Linked DNA regions of Homo sapiens: regions 1, 2 and 4 are each linked to region 3. The links are contacts of gene promoters, found by promoter capture Hi-C in human tissues and cell types (Jung and others, 2019). All regions are on one chromosome and are shown on one strand. The core of a region is centred on a gene start or on the middle of the fragment in contact, and the rest is flanking DNA. Distances in the headings are between cores, read along the strand shown. Region 1 overlaps POLA2 (DNA polymerase alpha 2, accessory subunit). Region 2 overlaps VPS51 (VPS51 subunit of GARP complex). Region 3 holds the start of ESRRA (estrogen related receptor alpha). Region 4 holds the start of ATL3 (atlastin GTPase 3).

Region 1 (5,046 bases), core at 2,547-5,046, 980 kb after region 3:
ACTAATAAAGCTGACAGCAGAAACTGGTTTTGTAATGTATGAAAGTAACTTCTAAACTATTCACGTAGAGGTGGCACTGGAGATTGAGATAATTAATTGAGCTCATTTTCTGTAGGCTGTGAAAAGAAAGAATGATGGCATTAATTGCGATGGTGCCCCACATAAAACTGGTTCCCGCAGAGTTTCAGTGCATTAAACAAAGCCTGTTTTAAATAGACCTCTCTGTACGGCGTGTTTACAACCAGAGGATTAGAAGACCTCACTGTCATCTAAGCAGATCAGCAATATCCATGTGTTCTTAGAGGTATAATTTACCAGTCAGGGAGTGGAAATGTGAGAACTTGGCAGTTGAGCCTAGAAAAATGGGAATGTTTGCACATCACCAGACTGTTAATTCATTACTTACCCACCTCCATAGACACTGGGGAAAATTGATTAATTTGAATTTCATTTTATTGTTGTTTCTACCTTGAACCATATTGTGAGTTTTTATATATGCTCAGCAAGTTTTAGCTTATCCACAGTTGCAGGCTCAGATGATGTTCCAATAAATGCTAAAAATTCATGAGAAGAAAAAAATGGGACTTAAAGTTTGCCTTTTAATCAATTCAGAATCTGGGGATCTTTTTGCCTTGCTTAGTTTTAATGCCAAGAGAACGACAACTTTTTAAAATACGTTTCTGTCTCTAAACTTCTCTAAAAATGTTTGGTATTCCTCAGCCTGGTATTCCTCAGCCCTTCATTCCTGAAATTCCTTAAAGGTCTGGGTATGTCCAACCCCATTAAACTGATTCAATTTATAAACTATGAGGCCACCTTCCTTTTCTCCAGTCCCCATTTCCAAAGGTAACCTCATTTTATTCTTCTCTCCCTTTAGATATGAACACAGTAATATTAACCTGTTTTGCTTCCAATTAGTGCTACTCCCTCCCAGAAATACAACTCACGAAGTAACCGAGGAGAAGTGGTTACCTCCTTCGGCTTAGCACAGGGAGTATCTTGGTCTGGGAGAGGAGGAGCTGGAAACATCAGCCTGAAGGTCTTGGGATGTCCAGAGGCACTAACTGGGAGCTACAAATCCATGTTTCAGAAGCTCCCAGACATTCGAGAAGGTGATTGTTTTTCCCTTTGAAATTCTGGTGGATATAAAACCACCTAGAAGGGTGTAGAGTAACAAAGCTTCAGCTAGGCTGGTAGAACAAGTTCCAAGGTTGCCTTTCAATGTATGAGTTGGTAGATGTCCTCATGGAAGCCCTAGTAATGGAGGGACACGGGCAATACTATCAGTGATTGCCCCAAGTCACTTCACTTTGCTAAAACGCACATAACCATTCCCAGCAGCAAAAACTTGAACGATGTAAAGGAATTCAACTTAAAGATATTCATGGTTCCTTCGTTAGAAGCCTTCTTCAGGTTGGCCTTGACTTGCCTAAAACCTCAGTGAGGACTTGAGTAAAGGGCAGACTTGGAGATGGGGTGGGGTTCATGCTGATTCCCTGGAATTGTGCTATGGGGTCTCCTGTGGCCAGATGGAAGGCCAGATTCAGCAACCAAATATCGGAAAATTGGCAAAGGTTTTAGAAGGTTTAAACTGGCCAGATGTCCAGGCACCCTTCCTGCTTCTGTAAAATGACTGACTTTAATATTTTACAATGTGCTGTATTTTCTCTTCTTGGCAAGTGAAATGTCTTAAACATAATACTTTTTTCCACTTCTGGGATTGTAGTTCTGACCTGTAAGATAGAAGAACTTGGCAGCGAACTCAAGGAACATTACAAGATTGAAGCTTTCACTCCTTTGCTAGCCCCAGCACAGGTAAGAGTTGTTCTAATAGTTCTCACTAATTAATATTACGTTTTTAAATCGATGACCAAGAGGCATCCTTCTTGCTTCCTTTTTCACTTCTTGTCTGTGTTCTAGTTTGAACATCTGTCTTGGTTGAATTTGGGAAAATGGGCCCTTCTGAAGAAAGATTTGTAAGTGCTGTCTGGTTTTGTGGCCAGAGAGTGATTTTCTTCCCACTTGGATTAGAGTCTTGCACATAAGCAGAGACTCAAGGCCTTGTTTCCCTTGGTGGTGAGTCAGGTAGCTCCCCGGGGATTTCCCACAAATAGAAGCATTCACGTATCGAGATAAAAGGACAGCAGCGACGGTGGGGTTTTCAGAATCTTGTTCTCTGGACAATGACTCACAGTCTCTCCCCTGGTTTGGTCTCTTGTTATAGACAAACTGCTGCCAATAGTATCTTTATATCATAGTTTAATCTGGCATATATACCAGTGCTTTCTCTCTAGAATGTTTTCTAATCTAAGGGGAAATATATTCTAGAAGTTTCTTTAAAGTACCTTTGTCAATGTTTACATTCAAAGAATGATCAGTTGGGGAAGTGATGCAGAACTGTGTCATAGAAGGAAGTGTTAGAGGACTTGGAAGGAAGTAATTGAGGGAAGGCAGGGAGGCACAATCACTGGGAAAGATGAGACTTCCTCTGTTTTCTCCCAAGAGTGGGAACAGAACAGAGGAAGCCATGGAGACAGAGATTTTAGCTCAATTAATAAAGAACTTCCTGTTAAGAGGTTGTATGGTATGTGGCTAAGGATATGGCTCTAGAGCCAAATTTCTGGTTTCAAACCCAAGCTTCACCCACAGTTTGACCTTGACTAAATTATCTAACCTTTCTGTTGCTTGTTTTCCTCATCTGTAAAATGGATACAGTAATATCCACCCGATGGTTGTTGCAAGGATTAAATGAGTTAATACATATAAAATGCCTAAGAATACATTTTAGAACAGTGCATGGTATTTAGTAAGCTCAAGAAATGTTAGCTATTATTAAGTAGTTATAGCTGCCCAAAGATGCAGTGGGCTGCCCTGGGGTGGTGAGGACAGGGTGGGGTAGGCATCCAGGGGCAAGTTCCCCTACACTAGAGATGCTCACACTTAGGCAGCCTCCTAGGAAGGCTCAAGTGCTGGGTGGATGGGTGGACAAGATGCCCTTTCAGAGTTCTTCCATCCTGAGAGTCAGTGATGACGCGGTAGTCACCTCAGGGTCAAAGCAATGCCCTGCCAAGAAATGTATTTGTTGTTTGCAGTTTGTTTTGCTATTCACCCTATCGACTTCAGATTTTGAGCTCCTGCTCCAAAGACTGTCATTCTTATGCTGTGACCTTCCTTTGGTAGGAGCCTGTCACTCTGCTGGGCCAGATTGGCTGTGATAGCAACGGGAAGCTGAACAACAAGTCAGTGATTCTCGAGGGAGACCGGGAACATTCCTCGGGTGCTCAAATTCCAGTGGATTTATCTGAGCTTAAGGAATATTCTCTGTTTCCTGGACAGGTGAGATTGGAGGAGTTCCACCAGAATGCAGGCGCACTCTTTACCCCTGTAGTGTAGGTGCTGTGCCATGCGCAGCTGCTCCTCAGTTCCTGTCTCTGCTGCCATGGGGTGCAGCTGGAGCACATGCCCCAGAGCAGACACCACTGTTGGGATTCCTGTTTCCCCCATGCTCTGACCCAGGCTCTGGGACCTGACTGCGCAGCCTCAAATCCCAACTCCCCGCTCCATGAGGTGCATGACTGTGCACAAGGTACTTAACCATCTAAACTACAGTTTCTTCACTCACAAAATGGAAATAATAATTCTTACCTCATAGGATTGTTGTGAAAATTAGATCACTTATATAGAGCATAATTATTATTACTAATGCAACGCCCTTAATTCGTTTTCTACAAAAATGCCCTAAGTTTATGATTACAGAATGAGAGTAGTTGGACAATGCTTTTAACTGCCTCAAAATAATGTATTCCAGACCTCATTGATCTCCACTGCTTAGCAATCCTGTTTGTTTTTGTCTTTCAGGTTGTAATTATGGAAGGAATCAACACCACTGGTAGGAAACTTGTTGCCACCAAACTCTACGAGGTACACAGCAGTACCCCCACTTGCCTCTTGGTTTGCTTCAGACAAAGTATGTCTGGAAGCTGTCTGTTCTAGAAACTGGTCCTTTTTAGGAGCCCATTTATTTGTTAGTCAGTTCTCCATCTGTAAGTGGGAACCCACCCCTAGGCCAGGGGTCAGCAAACCCTTTCTATAAAGGGCCAGACAGTAACTCTTTTAGACTTTGTAGCTATATGGTCTCTGTCACAATGACTCAATTCTGCCTTTGTCTACAAAAGCAGCCATAGAGGACTCTTAAACAGATGACTGTGGCTGTGTTCCCATAAAACTTTATTTAAATAGTGGGCTGCAGCCAAATTTGGCCCAGAGGCCGAAAGGTTACCTATCCCTGCTCTAGGCAACAATCCTCCAGAGATTTTCGTAGAATGCCAGGAAAAGTAGCAAGAAACCATTCTCTCCCATCCTTGCCTAGAAGTACACTGATACTTTAGGCACCTGTTTTGCTCCCACTTGTTGCTGGGTATTTTATGACAATTGAGTAGTGACCTCCCATTACCTGGGTTTCTTTGCCCTCTGAGCAGTATAGAAAAATGGCAGGTCCCATCAGATCCAGGGAGCAAGACAGAGGCACATCCTTCCCCTGCCCTCTCGCTCCTCCCCACTGTCCTCCCATCACACACCTGCACCACCCCCAACCTGGTGCCCTCCCCTTTCCTTACCAAGGTGATGCCTGGCGCAAGACCTTACTTGAGCTTTTCCCCTGTTTTTAGGGTGTGCCACTTCCATTTTATCAGCCCACTGAAGAGGATGCAGGTGAGTTTCGGTTCAAATATTGTTTTGCCAACAATGAGGATGGTAGACATGAGTCCAGGAGTGCAGTTTCCCAAGCCCAAGAAAGCTGCAGAAGCTGCTGAAGAGCAATGTGACCAAGCAGTGAGGGCGCCACCATCATGAGTTCGTAGGTTTTTTGTCACAAGACCCCTGGTCTGAGCCCAGTGAGCGTTGGTCGTGCTGTCGCCTGAGTTCTGCCTACATGAAGCATGTTGTTTAAAGACTAATGTTTAACAGGTATTTTTGAAGGTTGCCTTGGAAAGGAAAAGATGTACGATTTCAAAAAGAATTTATTTACATGCAGCATGGGCAGATGCG
Region 2 (5,124 bases), core at 2,157-4,656, 800 kb after region 3:
ATAATCAGCATCCAGGTCGGGAAACAGCATAACCAGCAAAGCCCCCTGAGCCTCCTACCAGTTACCACCCAGTCCCCTCCCAAGGTAGCCAACATCCTCGCATCCAGATGGCTTTCACTCTCCCTGGTTACAAACTGCTTTTCTTAACAAGCTTTTTTTTTTTTTTTTTTTTGAGACAGAGTCTTGCTCTGTCATCCAGGCTAGAGTGCAGTGGCCCAATCGGCTCACTGCAACCTCCGCCTCCGGGGTTCAAGTGATTCTCCTGTCTTAGGCTTCCAAGTACCTGGGATTACAGGCACCTGCCACCACACTTGGCTAATTATTGTATTTTCAGTAGAGACGGGATTTCACCATGTTGGTCAGGCAGGTGACCTCAGGTGATCCACCTGCCTTGGCCTCCCAAAGTGCTGGGGTTACAGGCGTGAGCCACTGTGCCCAGCCTGCTTTTCTTAACAAGCTTGAAATGCAAAGATAAACAGTGTAGTCTTTGTGACTGAATGGTGTGGATGCTTTCACTGTTGTTTTTGGATATGGTACAACTTTTATCTCCAGTGTAATGGCTCCATGGCTGGGAAGGCAGCGACAATGACAGCACACAGCACTGTTGGGTTTTCTTTTACTCTATTTTCCTAACAACTTAGTGTTTGGATTTTACCCTTTAGAAGTTGGATTCAAGCTTCCTTCTTGAGGTAGCCCCTAAGTGTCATGGGCTCAAACACCCACTACCAAAAGAGTCTGCTCTTTTCATGGTAGCTTTTGGCAGACCTGGAAGGAGATTGTGTCACATGGCCTGTAAACAAAACCAGTAATTCACTGGGTGAAGACCAAATGCCTCATCAACTGCCAAGCCTCTGTCTGTCTCCCTTAGATCAGTAGCCCATGATCCCTTTACGAACCTCAGCCTCGGCTCTGCTTTTATTGTTTTTCACTGCATAGCGCTGCCTTTGCTATGTCCTTTAGTTCACCATCTATGAATTGGCAAGAAAAATTTTCTTGCCAGGCACAGTGGCTCACTCCTGTGCTCCCAGCACTTTGGGAGGCTGAAGTGGGAGCATTGCTTGAGCCCAGAAGTTTGAGACCAGCCTGGGCAACATAGAGAGACCCCATCTCTACACAAAATTTAAACAAAAATTAAAAAATTAGCCGGGTGTGATGGCGCTTGTGTGTAGTCCCAGCTACTTCAGAAGCTAAGGTAGGAGGATCACTTGAGCCCCAGAGTTCAAGGCTGCAGTAAGCTGTGTTTGCACCACTGCATGCCATCTTGGCTCACTGTAACCTCCGCCTCCCCAGTTAAGGTGATTCTCCTGCCTTAGCCTCCTGAGTAGCTGGGATTATAAGTGTGCATCACCATGCCTGTAGACAGAGCAAGACCCTATCTCAAGCAAAGAAACTCAAAATAATTATGATTTCCCCAACAAAATGCAGGCAATGGTCCCTATGGTCCCAAAAGTAATATAGATGTTTCACATCATGTGATTTTATTCCTTAGTAACCTTCCTTTCTATGAAATCATCTCTAAGAGGGCTAAATGATCCTTTCTTGTGGACTGTGTTGTTAAAATGAAAAGTCCATTTTGCTGATACGTAATCTACCTTTCCATGTAATTTTTTAAAAAATCCCTTAATAGCTCTACAGATGTGAGCCCTGTAGATTCTTTGTCTCAGACAGTTCTTTCTCTTATATTTTCTCTAATATTTTTTTCCTGCATTTTTTGTTTCTGTTTGTTTCTTGTCAAATTGACATCAATGCTTTTCTCCTTACTCACCCTTCCAGCTGTCTCCCCAAGTGGGGTAGATTCCCAGTGTTGCTTGGAGAACATTCCTACAGTCCCAGAGCCACACACAGACCAGGTGTGGGTGTGTGAAGGCTCACAAGTGATTGCAGTTAGATATTTCCAGATTCTTCTTTGTAAATGCTGATCAGTTTGCATAACCACCAGCAAAGAAGAGAATACCTCTTTCAATCTTTGACAATCTGAGAAGTGAAAAGTGGTATCTCTTATTGTTTATAGTAACGTTTACAGGGTGTTTTTTTTTGTTTTTTTTTTTTAGGGCTTTCTATTTATTCAATTATTATTATTTGAGACAGAGTGTTGCTCTATTACTCAGGTTAGAGTGCAGTGGCACAATCTCAGCTCACTACAACTTGTGCCTCCAGGGTTCAAGCGATTCTCCTGCCTCAGCCTTCCCAGTAGCTAGGATTACAGGCACCTGCCACCACGCCCAACTACTTTTTGTATTTTTACTAGAGACAGGGTTTTACCATGTTGGCCAGGCTGGTCTCAAACTCCTGACGTCAAGTGATCTGCCTGCCTCGGCCTCCCAAAGTGCTGGGATTACAGGCATGAGCTACCGTGGCTGGCCTATTTATTTGATTATATCATCTGCAAATAGTGATACTTCTCCCTCCTTTCCAATTTGTGTATCTCCATAATACATCTCGTGACTCTAGCTGAGTTGGCTAATGCCCCAGAACAATGTAGATAACATTGGCAATCAAGGTTGTCCTTGCCATGTTTTGACTTTAATTGGAGTGCTTCTAGCACTGCCTCGGTAAACATGATACTGAGTTTTGGAGGTCAGGGAAATATTTAGCTGCTCATATGTTATTGAGAGTTTTTTAAAAATCAAGAATAGATGTTGAAATATCTATTAACATGGCAAATTATTATGAGATCCTCTAATTTTGAGTCATCCTGGCATTCATGAAACAAAAACCCTTTTGTGTTTATCAATTATTATTTTAATATGCTGCTGGATTTTGTTTGCTTATTTGTGCATCTCCATTTGTTTATTTAATTCATCCTTGCATCTCCATTCATAAGAGATATGAATGTGTATATGTGAGGTATTTCTGTTATGTTTTCATAACAGTGTTATGTTTGTTCCATCAAGTTTGTGTGAGAGCTGTTCTCGTTTCTCTGCTGGGGCAGTGTTTACACAGAGAATTGGAAGGCGCTGTCCTTCAAGCCGCCGCAACACCCCTGGACATCTGGGCCAGATGCCTTTGTGTGGAGGGGAAAGGGGAGTAGGACCTTTCTTTCACAACATTCTCTAGTTTTTCTGTTTCTGTTTTCTTGTTTTTTGCAATCCATTTTGGTAAATCCTATTTTTGTAGCAAATTATCCATTTCATCCATAGAATTCACCAAGCCCTTACCAATTTAGTGTTTTCTTGGTATTTTACCCATGCTGCAATTTCAGTTTTGATTTCCTTTTCTGACCTCATAATTGGTTAACAATGAGGTTTTTTCGACTGGGCACGGTGGCTCCCGCCTGTAATCCCAGCACTTTGGGAGGCCGAGGCGGGTGGATCACTTGAGGTCAGAGACCAGTCTGGCCAACATGGTGAAACCCTCTCTACTAAAAGTACAAAAATTAGCCAGGCATGGTGGCACGTGCCTGTAATCCCAGCTACTCGGGGCTGAGGCAGGAGAATCGCTTGAACCCAGGAGGTGGAGGTTGCAGTGAGCTGAGATCGCGCCACTGCACTGCAGCCTGGGCGACGGAGGGAGACCCTGTCTCAAAAAAAAAAAAAGAATGAGGTTTTTTTCTTTGTGATCTACCATATGGAAAGGTTTGTATATATTTTATGGCATTGTTTGGGAAAAATGCAAACTGTGTGCTTCCTATGCTCTCACATCACCACAATCATGACCACAGAAGAGTTCTGTGACCAAATGTGTTGGGTTTCTTCCCCACACACCAAGCAGCAGACACCCGCTGGGTGTCCTCTGATTTAATTCCAACACTATTTACCCAGAGATAGCATCAGATTCCATGAGTTGAGGGCTGAGTCCCCAAGCCTGCCTCCCTTCAGGCACTAGTTCAGTCCCAAATCTGCCTCCCCACTTTCAGGCACTAGCTGCAGGTCAGGGCCTCAGGCCTCCAGAATTTCTGACCAACTGGCTCCAGGTAGGGGTTTCCATAACTCCCTCTTTGGGCTCAGTTTGCTGGAGTGGCTCACAGAGCTCAGGATAACACATTTACCAGTTTATTACAAAGGATGTTACAAAGGGTACAGATGAGCAGGTGCATAGGGCGAGGTGTAGGAGAAGGAGCATGGAGTTTCCATGCCCTCCCCGGGCGTGCCACCCTCCAGGAGCCTCCAGAGCTGAGATCGCGCCACTGCACTCCAGCCTGGGTGACAGAGTGAGACTCTTTCTCAAACAAAACAAAACCAAAATATCTCCTGTTACAGATACACATTTCTGTCTTATCCTCTTCGCCTTTCTTTATGAACATTGTTGGTATGTTCAATGGAATTAGGGAAATTAGTTGGGAAATGTTGGCAGTTGTTGGACAAGAGATGATAGTGGCTTACAAAGAAAATGTTGCAGGTAGACCTTCCATGACTTGGTAATGGATTGATTACTAGGTATATTAATCCAGGTTCATACTGCTGTAAAGAACTGCCCGAGACTAGGTAACTTATAAAGGAAAGAGGTTTAATTGACTCACAGTTCACAGCATGGCTGGGGAGGCCTCAGGAAACTTACAATCATGGCAGAAGGTGAAAGAGAAGCAAGGCATCTTCTTCACAAGGCAGCAGGAAGGAGAAGTGTTAAGCGAAGCAGGGAGAGCCCCTTATAAAACCATCAGACCTCGTCGGGTGCGGTGGCTCATGCCTGTAATCCCAGCACTTTGGGAGGCCAAGGTGGGCGGATCATGAGGTCAGGAGATCAAGACCATCCTGGCTAACATGGTGAAACTCCATCTCTACTAAAAATACAAAAAATTAGCTGGGTGTGGTGGCAGGCACCTGTAGTCCCAGCTACTTGGGAGGCTGAGGCAGGAGAATGGTGTGAACCTGGGAATTGGAGTTTGCAGTGAGCAGAGGTCGTGCCACTGCACTCCAGTCTGGGCGACAGAGCGAGACTCAGTCTCAAAAAAAAAAAAAAAGAATAGGTGGAATTGAATTGAGGCCGTCAGTGAACAGTCAGGAACATTGGAAGGCTCATCCATGTGGATGTGCACAAGGAGGTGACAGGAGGAGGAGAAGAGGCAGTGATGGGGAACTGAGAGGAGTGTCAGAGGACAGTAGAGACAGCAAAGAGGAGGGTTGTGGCTTGATGGCATGGTCTTCCTAGAAGCCGGGGTTTTGAAGAGAGGAGATCTAGGCATGA
Region 3 (3,580 bases), core at 160-2,659:
ACCTGCACAGTGGGATGACCGCCTTGGTGTGGCCTCGACTGCCTCTGGTTGGGGAGTTGTGAGGAGCCTTTGGACAGTGGATTATGTGGGTGAACTTTTGCTGCTGTGGTAGGAAAGCCCAGCGGTGATAAAGGGCCAGCTGATGGCTTAGAGTGGGTGGCTGGTCCAGAAGGTGGGCAAACTGCTCGCTACCACCGCCCTAGTTCAGGCCTGCAACCTCTTCCCTAGCCTTGACCTCATCCATCCTCCACCTTAACACTCAGCACCCTTAGAGATGCAAAGTTCCCCAGGCTAACACAGACCTGAGTGCCCTGCGCTACTGCTACCTCGAATCATCTGCGGTTCCTCGAATCACACATGCGGCGCCCCCTGGTGGGGAGACCTTTCGGTTGCTCACTGCCCTGAGCCGAGCTCTGCCCTCCTCCTAGGCTACCAGTTAGGGATCGGCAGGGACCACTTCCTGACTAAGGAGCTGCAGCGATACATCGAAGGGCTCAAGAAGCGCCGGAGCAAGAGGCTGTACGTGAATTAAAAACGCCACCTTGGGCTCGAGCAGCGACCCGAACCAGCCCCGTGCCAGCCCGGTCCCCAGACCCAAGCCTGACCCCATCCGAGTGGAATTTGAGTCCTAAAGAAATAAAAGAGTCGATGCATGGTCCGTGAGTCAGTGCAGGACAGCCCGCGTGAGGCGGACGCACGTGGCCCCGCCCTTCCCCGTGACCTTCATTCGGTCACCGCAGTGACCTTCATTCGGTCACCGCAGTGACCTTGAGCTTTCTCCGTCCGGGCCCTATCGGCCCTACCTTCCGGGACTCGCAATCCAGGACTTATTGCATGTTTTAAGTCGGCTTCACCCACCCCGAGTTCCGCAGCTCTGTGGGGCTACTGGGTCTACGGTTCGAGTGCTCAGTTGGTGTCGCTTTGGGGGAAGGGGGTAGGGGGAACGGGGCAGCACCTCCCTCCTCGCGACGGCGCGCTAGGCTCCGCCCCTCAAGCATAGGTAGCAGGTCCAGCCTCTCCGCTCGTCCCGCCCTTGCGTTTTCATCTGTAAGTGGTCTCTTGGCTCCGCGACTGCAGCCTGCACCGCCTCGCCCACTCCTCTCGCGCGCAGCAAGCCCCGCCTCCTCCGTTACGAAAGAGCGCTTCTGGCCCCACTTGCTCTCGGCTCTATTGTCCCCGCCCTCCGCGTCTCCGGCCCCGCCCCTCCCAGGGGCCGCGTACGCATGTGCGCCGCAGTGGCTCGGCGGGCTGCGGGGCGGGACCTGCACGAAGGCCCGCCCACTGGCGCTGCCGGCTCCGCCCCGACTCGTCCGGGCGCGCAGGCGCCGCCCGCCCCGCTGGTCTGATTAGCATAGGACCCCGGGCCCCGCCCCCTGCTTTGCATGCGCACGGCCGGCCCCACCCCCGCTGTCAGCTGGAGGAAGCGGAGTAGGAAGCGGCCGCGATGTCCTTTTGTGTCCTACAAGCAGCCGGCGGCGCCGCCGAGTGAGGGGACGCGGCGCGGTGGGGCGGCGCGGCCCGAGGAGGCGGCGGAGGAGGGGCCGCCCGCGGCCCCCGGCTCACTCCGGCACTCCGGGCCGCTCGGCCCCCATGCCTGCCCGACCGCGCTGCCGGAGCCCCAGGTCCGGGGGCGGAGGGGAGCGCTGCCGCGGGGGTGGGCGGGCGGGGCGCGGGGGCCATGTGCGAGCGCGGCAGGGAGGCGGGCGGGGCGGGCTGCAGGCGGGGTCCGACTCTGGGGCCAGTCCGGGCCACGGTTGGGACCCAGTCGAGGGTCGGACTGGTCAGGGTTCAGGCGGGATCCGGCGTCCGAGTCCTGGTGGGCCGGCCTGGGGCAGGATCTGGCTCTGGCTGCGGGTCCTGACTCGGGTCAGGGTTGGGCCTCCGATCCAGCCCGCTCCGGGGCAGGGTTCAATCCCGCATTTGCCGAAGTCCCTGGGGCTGGCCGGGGTGGAAGACGGGGAGGGCTCTATGTCTGGGAAGGGGCTCTGAAGACCACGTGGGGGCGCTCGAAGGGGCCTGGGGCCACCCTCCTCTCTGGGTCAAAGGTCATCGCACCGGCAGGGGAGAACTTCCTCCTCCTTGGCTCTCCCCACTTACTTCCTGATAACCTGGTAGAGGTCTCCCGCGGGCGGGGAGGGGGAGGCGTAGCAACTTTAGGCAACTTCCCAAAGGTGTGCGCAGGTTGGGGGCGGGACGCGGCGCCCCGGGAGGTGGCGGCCTCTGCGACAGCGGGAGTATAAGAGTGGACCTGCAGGCTGGTCGCGAGGAGGTGGAGCGGCGCCCGCCGTGTGCCTGGGACCGGCATGCTGGGGCAGGAGGGCAGCCGCGTGTCAGGTGTGAAAAGCTCTGGAGGTGTTTTCATGAGTCCGTGCCTGTGCGTGTGGATGTGGGGAGACCTAGTGAGAGTGTGTGTGATCATGAGCCTTGACTGAGTTCGTGGATGGGGTGTGCGCTCCAGGAGAAGTGTGTGAGCACAAGTGTGAGCAGGAGTGAGCACGGGTTTGGGAAGGCCGGTGCAAGTGTGAAAGCCCTCAGCAGAGAGCGAGCCTGCGTGGGCTTGTGGGGCTCCTGAGCACCCCGGTGAGTGGAGTGTGTGAACTCGGTGTGAGCACGTCCACTGGCCTTGGGTCTGCTCTCCAATGCAGAATACCCAGATGAGGGCAGGGTCTCAGAGGTCCCCCCAACATCTGGAGAAAACTGGGAAGTATCCTGCTCCTGGCTAGGGATTCCAGGTGGGGTTGAAGGTTGCCTGGGGGCTACGGTTACCCTGCTCCCTGGCCTGGGTGGGAGTAGGGGCTTTCTAAGCCTCCCCCAGGTTCCCAAGGGGGAGACCTGCTGTCAGTTACTGGCCCTGAAGACTCTGTTTCCATGGCAACAGCTAGGAGGGGGCAGTGTTCCTGGGCAGTCCTTCCTTGGACTCTGCCCCCCTTCTTCCCCACTTGCTGGGCTTGGAAGCCTGGCCCTAGGCCCGAGGTTGGGCAACCCGTGTGGCAGGGTGTCTCCCATCCCCCATACCAGTGCTTTCCTGCGAACCTATGGGTCTCTCCGTGCAGGTGACCAGCGCCATGTCCAGCCAGGTGGTGGGCATTGAGCCTCTCTACATCAAGGCAGAGCCGGCCAGCCCTGACAGTCCAAAGGGTTCCTCGGAGACAGAGACCGAGCCTCCTGTGGCCCTGGCCCCTGGTCCAGCTCCCACTCGCTGCCTCCCAGGCCACAAGGAAGAGGAGGATGGGGAGGGGGCTGGGCCTGGCGAGCAGGGCGGTGGGAAGCTGGTGCTCAGCTCCCTGCCCAAGCGCCTCTGCCTGGTCTGTGGGGACGTGGCCTCCGGCTACCACTATGGTGTGGCATCCTGTGAGGCCTGCAAAGCCTTCTTCAAGAGGACCATCCAGGGTGAGCCCCCAGCCCACTCCCCTGTCCTTTGCCCTGCACCCTCTGGGTACACTGCTGGGTGCAATAGGCCCCCTGATGGCTGTGGCACCGCTTGAGGCTAACAATCTGGTGTTTCCAGTCCCTCTACCTCCCAGAGACACTCTTTCCCTGAGAAGTATGGTAAAAGCACCGGGTGTGCTGATGCATTGCA
Region 4 (5,195 bases), core at 1,595-4,094, 630 kb before region 3:
CACAGAAGGCTGAACAAAACCATATTTTTTGTTGTTGACTAAGGATTGTGTAATGCTTCATAGGTTTACAAAAATTATCTATGACTAAATGGTACTGAAGATTCAGAAAATCCAAGGAGAGGGCTGAATCTGAAAATGATGCCAGGCTATATCACAAGTGGAGGAAAAAAACCTTTTTAATGGAATGAGCTCAGTAACACTTTTGTATCTCTTTCCTAAGAATAAGAATGCCACCAAAGGTTTGAATTAGCTGTGTTCCTTTTTTTTTTTTTTTTTTTTTTTTGAGACAAGGTCTCACTCTGTTGCCTAGGCTGGAGTGCAGTGGCAAGAACAAGGCTCACTGCAGAAAAAAGAAAAAAAAAAAGGCTCACTGCAGCCAACTTCCTGGGCTCACTCCATCCTCTCACCTCAGCCTCCTGAGTAGCCAGAACTACAGGCCTGCAACACCACGTTGGCTAACTTTTTTTTAATTTTTTTTTGGGTGGGGGGGGGCGTCTCACCATGTTGGCCAGGCTGGTCTTGAACTCCTGACCTCAGGTGATCCACCTGCCTCAGCCTCCCAAAATGCTGGGATTACAGGAGTAAACCACAGCTCCCGGCCAAGTAAGGATTTCCTAATTAGCGCCTACTATACCAGGAAAGCCTGTCTTCTAATCTGTTAACATACTTCAGCTGTGAAATATATCTAAGGTGTTCTGACAATCGAAATACCACGCAACTGGGCCAGGCGCCGTGGCTCACACCTGCAATCCCAGCACTTTGGGAGGCCGAGCTAGGAGGATCACCTGAGGTCAGGAGTTCAAGATCAGCCTGGCAAACATGGTGAAACCCCGTCTCTACTAAAAATACAAAAATTACCCAGGCGCGGTGGAGGGCGCCTGTAATCCCAGCTACCTGGGAGGCTGCGGCAGGAGAATCGCTTGAACCTGGGAGGCGGAGGTTGCAGTGAGCAGAGATCGCGCCATTGCACTCCACCCTGGGCGAGAGAGCAAGACTCCTTCTCACCAGAAGAAAAAAAAAGAAAAGAAAAAGAAAATTAAGCTAGTACACAACACCACATCTATCCCGTTACTTCTATTTCATGAATTCTACTACAATGAGGTAGTAAACTGTAGCTAATACAATAATGGGCCGGGCACGATGGCTCACGCCTGTAATCCCAGTACTTGGGAGGCCGAGGAGAGGAGGGTGGTTCACCTGAGGTCAGGAGTTCGAGACCAGCCTGGCCAACGTGGTGAAACCCCGTTTCTACTAAAAATACAAAAAATTAGCTGGGCCTGGTGGCGGATGTCTATAATCCCAGCTACTCGGGAGGCTGACGCAGGAGAATCATTTGAACCCAGGAGGCGGAGGGTGCAGTGAGCCGAGACTGCGCCACTGTACTCCAGTTTAGGTAGCAAAAACGAAACTCCGTCTCAAAAAAAAATAGCCGCGCATGGTGGAGAGCGCCTGTAATCCCAGCTACCCGGGAGGATGAGGCAGAAGAATTGCTTGAACCCAGGAAGCGGAGGTTGCAATCAGCCGAGATCGCGCCATTGCACTCCAGCCTGGGTGACCAGAGCAAAACTCCGTCTCAAAAAATAATAATAAAACAATGTGCTGGACTACTGCAATACTGAGATCCTTCTCAGCCAAGTGTTTACAGGTGTTAGAGCGGCAACAGGAATTTCTGGAGTACAAGCTAATCTCTGTGGGAATGGAAAAAAAAAAGCACTAATTTGAATTTCAGTACCTATGTTGCAATGCTAAATTCTTGACAGGGATTAGTACTCCGTAGGTTATGCTTCTTAAATCTCCAAAAGTAAGCCAATATGTGAAATCGTACATTTTTGGTCCGTTATTCTAAGACTGACAAAACGTTCCATTGCTTCGTATTTGAATTTGAGAACTGAGACTCATTTAAAAATTCTTCACTGTTCTTTTCCTTTTTGCTCTTCGATTTCGCAAGTGAAACGGTCATTTCAACAGCACACACATTACACTAGAATAAAGCCAAGTAAAATGACAGACTAAATCAGATCCGTGAATACACGGTGACTCCTTATTTGGTTTTTAATACTTTCACTATGTTTCATGTCTTCGGGAAAGCAAAAGAACAACGTACTGTGCCAAAAGCACTAACTTACGAAAAACCAATTTAGACCAATTCTTTACAGCGTTAAGTATGGGTTGAAAACCAACTTTCCTAATACTTGTGGTCAGTGCCTCAAGGTCGTTAGGATAAAAATAAAGCTTCCAAGACACTTCGCAGCCTTCCAGCACTTCCAGAAAGGCCAAATAAACCAGCATTCACCTTCCCGCTCCATCCAGGCCCCGATTCTCCGACCAGAGAGGGCGCTGAGTGCCCGGGCACGGAGGGGCAGCGCCCTGGGGCGCCCGGCTCTGCCCAGGGCGGGGCTCGGCGGGGCCGAAGCTCCGGACGCCGCCCACGGGGACCACCGGCCCTTGGGCCGCCCAGGGGCAGCTGCAGCCCAGGGGAGGAGCTGGAGGAGCCCCCGGCGGCACCAGGGCCCGAGCCCTGACGGCGGCCGCCCCCGGCCGAAAAGTAAGGAAGGTGCCGCCCTCGCTGGACCAGCTGGGCCCGAAGAGGGGCCCCCCCACCACAAATTCGGAAACCGAGTGACCCCGGCGAGGGACGCGCGGTCCCAGCCCCGGGACGAGGAAGGGCGGCGGCGCGGGCGGGGGTTCTTTTCAGAACTACAGCAGGGAAGGCGGCGGGGGTGGCCGCGGGGCGATCCAGGGAAAATCGGCGCCTCACCTGCTCCTCTTGAGGCAGCTGCTGCCACTCGCTGAGGGGACAACATGGAGCCTCCGCCTTCAAAGCAGAAGCAGCAGGGGTGCAGAGGAGAGGGACGGGTGCGGGCGGGAACGAACCGGGCCCTGGAAGCGGGAAACGGGCGGAGCCTGGGCTCTAGAAAAAACTAGCCAGAAGGTGGGGCACGCGGAGCCGCGACGGAGCGAGCGCAGCGCGGTCTGCGTGGCCCAACGGACAGCCCGAGGCGTGGCGAGCGCAGGACGAGGCTAGGCGAGGCGGGGCGGGAAAGCGCACGCGGCAGAATCCCGCCACCGCCTGCCGCGTGTGCGCGAAGCGAGCCGCCGGGTACCTGTTGGCGGGGCGCTGAGTGCTACCGTCCTTTGGGAATTGTAGTCCCGCGCTCACTGGGTCCCGGCCAGCGGTCCTCATACTGCGCACTCATCTGGGGCGGGGCTTGGCGTGGTTCTCCGACGACTGAACTACAACTCCCAGCAGGCTGTGCGGGAAGGGGCGGGCTGGCTCGGGTCCTCCTGCGAGCTGCGGCCGGCGCCTAACGTGCAGACCAGGCCCCAGGCCGAGGCTTTATCCTGGAACCACCAGTGTGAGAGACAGCTTTGGTGTTTAACTAGGCCTGGGACCACAGGTGGGCAGAAGAGAGGCCTCAACCCTGGATGGCATGAACGTCACTGGGTCTTTAATGATTTTGACTTCATAAGGGCAGGTGGCCGTGACTTCATTACCACCTTTATTATCATCTCCCTATATTCCTGTCCCTGGCCATGGCTGATGCGCACCATCACCGCTCTGATAGCTAATGTAAGAAGTCCAGGCCGGGCGCCGTGCCTCACGCCTGTAATCCCAGCACTTTGGGAGGCCGAGGCGGGTGGATCACCTGAGGTCGTGGGCGTTCGAGACCAGCCTGACCAACATGGAGAATCCCCGTCTCTACTAAAAATACGAAATTAGCCAGGCGTAGTGGCGCACGCTTGTAATCCCAGCTAGTCCAGAGGCTGAACAGGAGAATCGCTTGAACCCAGGAGGCGGAGGTTGCAGTGAGCCGAGATCGCACCATTGCACACCAGCGTAGGCAACAGGAGCAAAACTCCATCAAAAAAAAAAAAAAAAAACTTGCACGCACATCCCAGCATTCTCTGCTCCTTTTCCCTGCATTACTTTTCTCCAAAAGACTTCATACCACTTGGCCAGGCGCGGTGGCTCACGCCTGTAATCCCAGCACTTTGGGAGGCTGAGGTGGTTGGATCACCTGAGGTCGGGAGTTCAAGACCAGCCAGGCTAACATGGTGAAACCCCATCTCTTCTAAAAATACAAAAAATTAACCAGGCGTGGTGGCAGGCGCCTGTAATCCCAGCTACTCGGGAGGCTGAGGCAGGAGAGGTTGCATTGAGTGGAGATGGCACCACTGCACTCCAGCCTGGGAGAAAGAGCAAGACTCCATCTCAAAAAAAAAAAAAAAAAAAAAGACTTCCTGCTACTATCTGACTTATGTTTTACCTTTCATTGTGTTTGTCTCTTCCCACTGAATGTAAGTTCCAAACAGATAGGAATTTTTGTCTGTTTTGTTTACTTGTATATCCCCAGTCCCTAAATACTGCTGGCAGATAATAGAGACTCAAATATCTATTGAATTAATGGATGAAGAAGATATATGTTACATCTAACACTGCTCACTCACTTTCTGGTTCCTTTAATATTAAATACCTAACTTTTACTATTGAACAAAATACCCTAGTTTATTTTAAGGGCTCCCCAGAGATTCACTGAAATCCAACTTCTCAGGAAGTGACCAGCAAATACTGATATATGTCTCAATATTACATCATCAAGGTATCAAGGTCAATGTTAGCACATCAGCATTGTAGCCCTTGTAGAAGCTTTTGGCATTTGGAACAAAACAGTACAAATTATAGGTGGACTTAAGGATTAGTCACAACTTAGAAAGCAACCCCTGTAAATGAGAAACATGTTTTGTGTTATTTCCTTCTCAAATATCCAGGGTCATCAAAACACTGGACATTGAAAGTGCCAAATATTGACAATACTGGTTACAGCCTGCCTTCAGCTATCTCACTCTGAATTGAGTTATGTGCTATGATCAGAGGTTGAGCTTCCCTTGAGGTTTTCCAGAAGTAGGTGACATGTAGACATATTTGAGTGGACAGACTACTGGCTTTGGGGTCAGACTTACCTGGCTCTGATGTTCACTAGCTATGCAACCTTGGGCGAGCTACTTAACCTCTCTGAATCCATTTCATCATCTGCAAAATGATTTAAAGACCCACACGGTTGTTCTAGGCTAAGTGAGCTGTGTGTTTGGAAATGATGACTGCGTGGTTAGTGATCAAAATTAGTAATCAGCATATTCATTCTGGAAAAGCAAAATAAAGTCATAAATATTCAAGATACTCAAGTGGTTTATGA

The links. Contacts are between HindIII fragments. The study calls those that stand out against the background at their distance.
Region 1: a contact is called between a fragment that was not itself captured here and the fragment with the promoter of ESRRA in region 3, in 1 of the 25 tissues and cell types used here (dorsolateral prefrontal cortex).
Region 2: a contact is called between a fragment that was not itself captured here and the fragment with the promoter of ESRRA in region 3, in 2 of the 25 tissues and cell types used here (hippocampus and liver).
Region 4: the fragment with the promoter of ATL3 here is called in contact with the fragment with the promoter of ESRRA in region 3 in 1 of the 25 tissues and cell types used here (thymus).

The regions. Positions count from the first base shown.
Region 1 is chr11:65,277,812-65,282,857 of GRCh38, forward strand. It overlaps POLA2 (DNA polymerase alpha 2, accessory subunit), which reads left to right. Exons shown (of 18, transcript NM_002689.4): 6 at 919-1,112; 7 at 1,727-1,815; 8 at 3,181-3,336; 9 at 3,859-3,921; 10 at 4,668-4,710. Among named protein-coding and RNA genes, the nearest start is that of POLA2, 18 kb to the left of the region's middle. RefSeq lists an enhancer at 1,459-2,658. The HindIII fragment of the contact is 6,666 bases long and covers 464-5,046 here.
Region 2 is chr11:65,101,866-65,106,989 of GRCh38, forward strand. The region is part of intron 2 of VPS51 (VPS51 subunit of GARP complex); the gene reads left to right. Among named protein-coding and RNA genes, the nearest start is that of TM7SF2, 7.4 kb to the right of the region's middle. RefSeq lists a silencer at 372-666. The HindIII fragment of the contact is 6,205 bases long and covers 305-5,124 here.
Region 3 is chr11:64,304,115-64,307,694 of GRCh38, forward strand. ESRRA (estrogen related receptor alpha) reads left to right here and starts at 1,410. Exons shown (of 7, transcript NM_004451.5): 1 at 1,410-1,622; 2 at 3,054-3,390. The coding sequence starts at 3,066. CATSPERZ (catsper channel auxiliary subunit zeta) reads left to right here. Exons shown (of 5, transcript NM_001039496.2): 5 at 429-656. The coding sequence ends at 532. It overlaps KCNK4-CATSPERZ (KCNK4-CATSPERZ readthrough (NMD candidate)), which reads left to right. Exons shown (of 11, transcript NR_133662.1): 11 at 429-655. RefSeq lists a silencer at 1,117-1,626 and an enhancer at 2,037-2,106. The HindIII fragment of the contact is 12,153 bases long and covers 1-3,580 here.
Region 4 is chr11:63,668,532-63,673,726 of GRCh38, forward strand. It overlaps ATL3 (atlastin GTPase 3), which reads right to left and starts at 2,845. Exons shown (of 13, transcript NM_015459.5): 1 at 2,759-2,845. The coding sequence starts at 2,804. RefSeq lists enhancers at 2,210-2,711, 2,712-3,211, 3,252-3,361 and silencers at 2,372-2,631, 2,662-2,721, 3,042-3,161. The HindIII fragment of the contact is 6,643 bases long and covers 1-4,951 here.